Regions from separate parts of the Homo sapiens genome. Here regions 1 and 2 are each linked to region 3. Evidence: promoter capture Hi-C in 16 types of primary human blood cells and fetal thymus (Javierre and others, 2016). All regions are on one chromosome and are shown on one strand. Each heading gives the region's core, a stretch centred on a gene start or on the middle of the fragment in contact. The rest is flanking DNA. Distances are from core to core; before and after follow the strand shown. Region 1 has its middle 46 kb from the start of LINC03011. Region 2 has its middle 56 kb from the start of KCTD7. Region 3 holds the start of RABGEF1 (RAB guanine nucleotide exchange factor 1).

Region 1 (2,700 bases), core at 160-2,659, 200 kb after region 3:
TGCCTGGCTAATTTTTGTATTTTTAGTAGAGACAGGGTTTCACCATGTTGCTCAGGCTGGTCTTGAACTCCTGGCCTCAGGTGATCCGCCCGCCTCAGCCTCCCAAAGTGCTGGGATTATAGATGTGAACCACCATGCCCGGCCTCCCCGACAGTAGCTATAGAAAGAAGGCTTAGTCTTAAAGATAGTTTCCCCTAAATCTGTTGCTTTCAGCCCACAGTGCCACGCCTCTGTCTTCTCCTATTCCGGGACAGAGCAAGACTCAAAGTCAGAGCTCTACGAAGCTTGCAGGATAGAAAGAAGCTTAGCAGGCCCCTCAAAGATGAGGCCCAGGCCGGGTGGAGAGGCCGAGGTGGGTGGATCACTTGAGGTCAGGAGTTCCAGACCAGCCTGGCCAACATGGTGAAACCGTGTCTCTACTAAAAATACAAAAAATTAGCTGGGTGTGGTGGTGTGTGCCTGTAATCCGAGTTACTCAGGAGGCTGAGGCAGGAGAATCCCTTGAACTGGGAGGTGGAAGCTGCAGTGAGCTAAGATCGCGCCACCGCACTCCAGCCTGGGTGACAAAGCAAGACTCCGTCTCAAGAAAAAACAAAAAACATGGGACCCCAAACTCACTATGCCAAAGGGAAATGTTAAGCTTGGGAACTGAGTCATTCAATAGCCTTTTGTCCCTAAGCAGATGGCTGTAAGACAGAAGGTCACCTATCTCCCGGGTGGCTTCCCTCACCCTGGTCATGTAAATTCACAGCTTATCTTCACAGGCAGGGGACAAAGACAAGAATAGAAATTATCGCTCTGTCCACCCAAGACAAATACGTATTTAACTTCCTCTATTCTGTTTACATTATCTTATGTAAAATGCAGATTTACTGAGCACAGGATGAATACATCATTAACTATTCCTCTTCTTTTATTTTTTTATTTTTTGAGACAGTCTCACTGTTTTCCAGGCTGGAGTGCAGTGGCATGATTTTGGCTCACTGCAACCTCCGCCTACTGAGTTCGAGTGATTCTTGTGCCTCAGCCTCCAGAGTAGCCAGGATTACAGGCACCCGCCACCACGCGTGTTGAATTTTTTGTATTTTTAGTAGAGATGGGGTTTCATTATGCTGCCCATTATGCTCCTGACCTCAGGTGATCCACCTGCCTTGGCCTTCCAAAGTGCTGGGATTACAAGCGTGAGCCACTGTGCCCAGCCCCCCTCTTTCCCCTTTAAATACCAAAGTCCTCAAAATCCTCTCTGGAAAAAAGCACAGGCCACAGACCCTATTGCAGCTTGAGTCTCTTTTTCCTGGCTGTGTCCTCCACCATGGCAAAATAAATCTCTAAATCGATTGAGACCTGTTTCAGGCACTTTCTGGTTTACATGGCCCATGGGAGCCTATAGCAGGGAGGGCTTCCCAGAGGAGGTGACCACCACACGGGGCCCAAAGCTCCAAGGATGTGGGCTCATCTGCACTCTGGGGCTCATCACACAGACCTCCAAGGCAGTTGGGAGCGGCAAGTAAGACACAAGGAAACTTGTAGTATCCTGTAATTTCAGGTGCTTAACACTCATTAGCCAATCAGGAAACTTCCCCTGTTCCTTCCAAGTCTTGCCTGGTCTGGGGAGAAGTGCAACCCTAAACCAGGCTGCGGCTAACCAGCAGTGACACTACGGGGCAGTCAATAGCACACTATGGCAGCTCTACGTGAGACACAGGTCCCAGGCGGTGAACCAGAAGTGGCGGGAGTGTGCGTGTCAGGAAAGTGGGGCTGGGCTGGCTGAGGGGGCTGGCGGTTTGGGGAGGCGTCCTGACCACCTCCAGAGTGTGGGAGGGGTGGAGTGGGTCTAAATGCCTTTGTCAATAACACCAGGAACTGACCAGATGTAGTGGCTCATGCCTGTAATCCCAGCACTTTGGGAGGCTGAGGCCAGGAGTTTGAAACCAGTCTGGGGAACATGGCAAGACCCTGTCTCTACAAAAAAACAAACAAACAAAAATTAGCTGGGCATGGTAGTGTGTGCCTGTAATCCCAGCTACTTGGGAGGCAGAGGTGGGAGGATCGCTTGAGCCTGGAAAGTCAAGGTTGCAGTACGCCATGATTGCACCACTGCACTCCAGCCTGGGCAACTGAGCTAGACCCTGTCTCAAACTAACAACAAACAAATTAAAAAATAAAAAACAAGCTTGGCCATATTACGTGCAGACACTGTGCAAAGCCCACAGTATACCTTGTCCGTGGGATTCTCTAGCTCAGTCAACAAGCTCTGGAAGAACACTGATTTTTCTCTGTAGCTGCTCTTGCATTTTCCTACCTCTTTATTTAATTTAGAGGAAAGAGGATTACTTTTTTTTTTTTTTTTTTTTGTTAGAGACAGGGTCTTGCTGTCATTCAGGCTGGAGTGCAGTAGCTGGGGCTACAGGTGCAGGCCACCACACCCAGCTAATTTTTCCATTTTTTGTAGAGATGGGATCTTGCCATGTCGCCCAGGTTACATTTTTTTAAATCATGAGTTTCTGAAGGAAATGGGGTAGGGCAGGCTCTGGTAGGGGCTGGATTGTTCGAGCTCCTGCTTGAATTCCTGCATACACTGGGGAAAAGGGGGATCCCCAGGGCCAGGGATGGGGAAGGTCCCTGGCTCATTAGACAGGAAGGCAATCTTGATTCTAACCCCTAATGCTGTGTGGTGTATGGAAAGTCACTCAACCTCTC
Region 2 (2,700 bases), core at 111-2,610, 170 kb after region 3:
ACAGTCTTTCTTGCTTCCCCACCACATGATGAAATCCAGAATAGTGGGCTCAGCAATCAAGATTCCCTACCCTCTGGAGCCTTCCTGTGTATCCAGCATCACAGTTCATCACACGCCCAGTGCTCTGGCTACATTCAGCTTGTTGTGAAGCAAACCACAGGCTTGCACATTTGTAGTTCCTTCTTCCTGGAATGTCCTTTCACTTAGAATCCTAGTCAGCCTTATTACTCAGACGTGGTGGTGTGCACCTATAGTCTCAATAACTTGGAAGGCTGAGGGATGAAAATTGCTTGAACTCGGGAGGCAGAGGTTGTAGTGAGCTGAAATCGTACTATTGCACCCCAGCCTGGGTGATGGAGTGACACTCTGTCTCAATAAAAAACAACAAAAAAAAGGATCCTATTTATCCTTTAAGACCCCACCCAAACATCACCGTTGTAAAGCCTTATCAGCTCCCCCCAGCAGATTGCGTTGTTCTTTCCTGTGTTCTCACAGCACTCAACTTTTACTCTCTGATGTAGCAGCTGTCCCATTCTGTAGCAGTTGTTTACTTACCTTTTCGTCTGTTCCAGCCTTGAGCTTGTTAGGGAAAAGGACTAGACTTTATTTATTTCACTGAGCTTGTTGGGGAAAAGGACTAGACTTGATTTCTTTCATGTAACCTAGAGCAGTTGCTGAATGAGCATGAGAGGATCCCATTTGAAATCTGTAGTGCATGAAGAGCCGTCCATCCTGTAGCTATGTGAGACCTCAGACTGATTTGGCATATTTAGTCTCTAGGTCTAAAATCTTTAGATCCTCCTGAATTAATGGAGTAATAACCTTCAGGTATAGAGAAATCTTGGAGAATATCTAGATCATTCTAATCCTCTCTTGAATTGCAGACTCCAGCGGGAGGAAGAAGAGGCCTTTGCCAGCAGTCAGAGCAGCCAAGGGGCCCAATCCCTCACATTCTCCAAGTTTGAAGGAAAGAAAACCAACAAGAAGACCCGCAAGGTTACCACAGTGAAGAAATCTTCAGTACGTCTTCCAGGGTCGGATCAAAGAAGGGTAATGTTGTGATACTCTTTTTTTTCTTCTCTGCCTGAGTGAGACACAGAGGAGATCCCCAATGCTCATAGGCTCAGCTTTGTAATTTCTGTCAACTTTTTGAGAACATCAGCTCAGATTTGACACTGAAATTGGGTTTGAGGGTCAGACAGTATATGAAACCAATACTCTCTTTGGTTGAAAGATATTGTGTTTTAGAGAAATTTGTTTACTTTATAGGAGGAATAAAGAGAATTGAAATAGGTAGTTTTGTTTATGAAATTCATCCCCATCCAAATGACTATCTCTTTGGATGATTTGGTTTTTGCGCCTTTTATTTGTGGATCCTGGTTTGTTCTGTAGTATCATACCCTCATTGTTCATAGCTTGTCAGAAATGGCAATTTCTAGCCTTGAAGGTCATCTGAGAGATTTTCTGCCTGAGAGCTTATTTGAGAGACAGCTTGTGTCATGAGGAATTGTATTGAGAACATATAGGAAAAGGCCCACATTGGGCTCCTGGAGGGATGAAAGTGAGCCATAGTAGCTATTTTCCAGTGCATGGATTTGTATGTAGGTGATCATATTCACTCGGCTTCTTAAAATGCCATATAACCATCAAGAGGATTGTCACTTAAGTCACAGTTGTTCTACCATTGAGCAGACAACCCAGTTGAAGTGGCCCAATATGAAGCAAGAAAGAATCTCTGTTGTTAGGCCTTGGTCTCTGAAAATTTATGTTGGTACTCGGTCTTTGAAAATTTATGTTGAGTTATGCAGTGAATGTGAAATAATGAGGGAGACTGGGAACCAACACTGATGCTGTCAGAAAACCTGTTCTCTGGGAGCCCCCTCACTTGCTCCCCAGTTCTTACCCTGGGGTAATTGTAATGAGATCTTCTCCCCTGGAGGCAGGGGAATGAATAATAAGACAGTTTTTATCCCTTAAGATCCTTGCCAGTCCTCTAGGTTTTGTGACTTTTGCTGTTTTCTTTTGGTTTATTGTAAGGAAATAAAAGGAAATATTGCATATAACCAAAAACATACTTCTCTTTAAGACATGGATACCAGGTGTGGTGGCTTACACCTATAATCTCAGCACTTTGGGAGGCCACGACGGGTGGATCACCTGAGCTCCGGAGTTTGAGACCAGCCAGGGCAACATGGTGAAACCCCGTTTCTACAAAAAATAAAAAAATTATCCAGGCACAGTGGCATGTGCCTGTAGTCTCAGCCTGGGTGACAGAGCAAGACCCTGTCTCAAAATTAAAAAAAACAAAAAAAATAATAAAATAAAAAGAAAAGAAAAAAGAAAGATTGATTAGCTTTAAGTAATAAATCTTTGTTCACATGATTAATTTGAAGTTGTTTCTTGGTTGGCTGCCAGTTGTAGCTATTTTGTCTCTACTAAAAAGGGGGAAAAATTAGTACCTGCCAGAGATTAAATAAGAATGTATTCAGCTCATGATTTATCTATTAGGAGGTGAAATTTCCAGGTGGTTAGTCAGGTGACTTTGCAGTCATTCCTGGTTTGAGTCCTAGTTTTGTCATTTACCAGCTTTGTGACCCTGGGTGGACTAACCACTCCAAGTCTTGTCCACACTGAGGGACAGTAATACCTATCAGAGACATGTGATGAGGATTTCATGAGTTGACACATGTACAGAGCTTA
Region 3 (2,700 bases), core at 84-2,583:
CATTCTCCTGCCTCAGCCTCCAGAGTAGCTGGGACTACAGGTGCCCGCCACGATGCCCGGCAAATTTTCTTTTTCTTTTTTTTTTTTATTTGTAGTAGAGACGGGGTTTCACCGTGTTAGGGAGGATGGTCTCAAGCTCCTGACGTCATGATCCGCCTGCCTTGGCCTTCCAAATGCTGGGATTACAGACGTGAGCCACCGCACCCGGCCGGAACACACTCTTTAACAGCAGTTAAAGCCGCGCAATGGCTCACGCCTATAATCCCAACACTCTGGGAGGCCGAGGCGGGAGGATCACTTAAGGCCAGGAGTTTCACACCTGCCTGGGCAACACTGTGAGATCCCATGTCGAAAAAAATAATAAATAAAAACAAAGCAGTTCTAGGTTTAGAGGGGGGAAAGCAGCTCTCCAGGCCAAAAACCAACTCCCAAGGTGCTCCGGTAAACTCGTCCTGGGAAAATTTCCTACCTAATCTCAAAGGCAAAACGAGCCCACGGGCGCCCACGACACATTTCCCAACCGCAAGGATTGGTCACCCGCGCTGAGACACCGCCAGCTGCCTATGACCTAGCCTCCAAAGCGGCAGAGTCCCTCCCTCTCTCTCCCTAAACTGCCGTGATGGGCATCCCTCGGCTCTCCTCCCAGACGGTTCGGAAGCAGGGACTTCTGCTCCTAACCCCGGCCCCGCAGCCTCGCCCTCAGCCACGGGGTGGAAGTCAGGACCACAGGCTTCAAATCCCCTCCCAACTCCGGGACACTTCTGCCCCCTAGGGTGACGTGGGATCAAGTCCCCGCGCCCCTGCCGCGGCCGGGGGCTGTGGTCTGGGTCCGAGCGTCCCATACCAGCGCTTTCCGGGGAGGTTGTGGGAGGGGCCCCGTGCGACCACAGACGCTGCTTCGGAGCCAGCGGCCTGGACGGAAGGTGGGAGCCGGGGCGAGGGGAGCCGCCGGAGAGGGAGGCGGCCAGGAAATGCTCCGCGTCAGGCCGTCGGGGCTCGGCTGGCGCTGGAGATCCCGGCAACTAGCGTCTGGGACGGAGAGGCCGCACTCTGAGGATTAAGGGAGCCGAGGGCGGCCTGGAACGGGGAAGGCGGCGCTGACGGAGACGGAATGTGGGACGAAGGACAGCGGGAGGCACCGACGCGCAACTGCCCCAGCCGCGCGGATGGCACGGACCGACCGCCCTGCCACCCCCAGCCCGAGACGCCCCGCCGCCCCGCTCCTGTAGCTGAGAGCCGAGCAGCTCTCAGCCCCAGTCCGTCCGCTCCGTACCTCGCCCGCGTCTCCGCCGGCGTCCAAACCACCGCTCGCCCGCTTCGCCCGGGTAGGTCTGGGCTCCGCGGCCAGCTCCCGCCTCACACCCACCCTCCTGCTCGCCCCGCCCCCGGCACCGCCAGCGAACGCACGTTACGCGCGGCGCGTAAACGTCACTTCCGGGGCCTTTGACTCTGGACGGGAGGAAGTGCGAGTGGATCCAAAGGGTCGAGCGGAGTGGGGTACCGCCCTGACGCCCAAGAGCAAATGGAAGAGGGCGGCCTCCGGGGTAAAGGTGGGGCGCTGGGGAGCCCCGGAGAAACCGGCGTTTCCTAGTCTGTCGCTCAGTCCCTGCTTCCGGCTTCCGACGCGCAACAGCTGGAGGGCGACGCTGGCTCCGCGGCGACTCCTGGGGCTGCGGCCGCGGTGGTAGCGCGAATGGGAGGTGGAGCGGAGCTACTGCGCCGAGGGACGCTTCAGAAACTCTGTTTCAGTCCTTCGCGGATCCTAGGATGTGACAGGTGTTCGAGTTAAAAGGTCTTAAGGCGATCGGTTGATCCAAAAGCAGCTGAATCTTTAGGAGGCCCAGGCAGGAGGATCGCTTGAGTCCAGGAGTTCGAGACCAGCCTGGGCCACAGAGCAAGGTCACCATCTCTACAAAAGAAATTTTACAAATCAGCCGGACATGATGGCGGGCACCTGTGGTCCCAACTACCAGGGAGGCTGAGGTGGGAGGATCGCTTGATAGCCCAGGAAGTTGACGGTGCAGAGATCCCTCCACTGAACTCCAGGCCGGGTGACAGCAGAGCGAGATCCTGTCTCAAAAAAAACATAACCGACATCCAGAAGTGAAATAAATTAGCCAGTGTCACAAAGTATTAATGGTTGAGTCACAAATTGAATCCTGTTTACCTGATTCTTTACGTGATTCCCATGTAAGGAATGTTAAAAACAGTAAATACTAATTCCTCTGCGTCCTGAATGCCATGTATGGCGTAACGTGCAGTCACAGCAAGAAAAAAAAGAAAATACTATGCTGTGGCTGTGAGATAGACCTGGGTTAAAATCCCAGCTTTGCTAATTGTCGCTGTAGTGTTCTTGGACAGGTTGCGTAATTTTTCAGTCTATTTTTTTTTTTTTTTTTTTTTTTTTTGAGACTCTCACTCTGTCGCCCACACTGGAGTTCAGTCGTGCGATCTCGGCTTACTGCAACCTCCGCCTCCTAGGTTCAAGCGATTCTCCCACCTCAGCCACCCAAGTAGCTGGAATTACAGGCACCCGCCACCACGCCCAGCTCATATTTTTTTTTTTGTATTTTTAGTCGAGACAGGGTTTCACCATGTTGGCCAGGCTGGTTTTGAATCCTGACCTCAAGTGATCCGCCCACCTTGGCTTCCCAAAGTGCTAGGATTATAGGTGTGAGCTACTGCGCCCGGCCCGAGTTT

The links. Contacts are between HindIII fragments. The CHiCAGO score rates a contact against its expected background, and 5 or more counts as called.
Region 1: a fragment that was not itself captured here is called in contact with the fragment with the promoter of RABGEF1 in region 3 in 2 of 17 cell types (naive CD8 T cells and naive CD4 T cells); the score reaches 5.3 in naive CD8 T cells.
Region 2: a contact is called between a fragment that was not itself captured here and the fragment with the promoter of RABGEF1 in region 3, in 2 of 17 cell types (non-activated CD4 T cells and naive CD4 T cells). The highest score is 6.5, in non-activated CD4 T cells.

What each region holds. Positions count from the first base shown.
Region 1 is chr7:66,538,123-66,540,822 of GRCh38, reverse strand. It overlaps the pseudogene LOC100420547 and the pseudogene RABGEF1P1. Among named protein-coding and RNA genes, the nearest start is that of LINC03011, 46 kb to the right of the region's middle. The HindIII fragment of the contact is 1,533 bases long and covers 643-2,175 here.
Region 2 is chr7:66,571,735-66,574,434 of GRCh38, reverse strand. It overlaps the pseudogene RABGEF1P1. Among named protein-coding and RNA genes, the nearest start is that of KCTD7, 56 kb to the left of the region's middle. The HindIII fragment of the contact is 4,526 bases long and covers 1-2,700 here.
Region 3 is chr7:66,739,366-66,742,065 of GRCh38, reverse strand. RABGEF1 (RAB guanine nucleotide exchange factor 1) reads right to left here and starts at 1,333. Exons shown (of 9, transcript NM_014504.3): 1 at 1,274-1,333. RefSeq lists silencers at 1,110-1,249, 1,270-1,539 and enhancers at 990-1,656, 1,670-1,719. The HindIII fragment of the contact is 9,271 bases long and covers 1-2,700 here.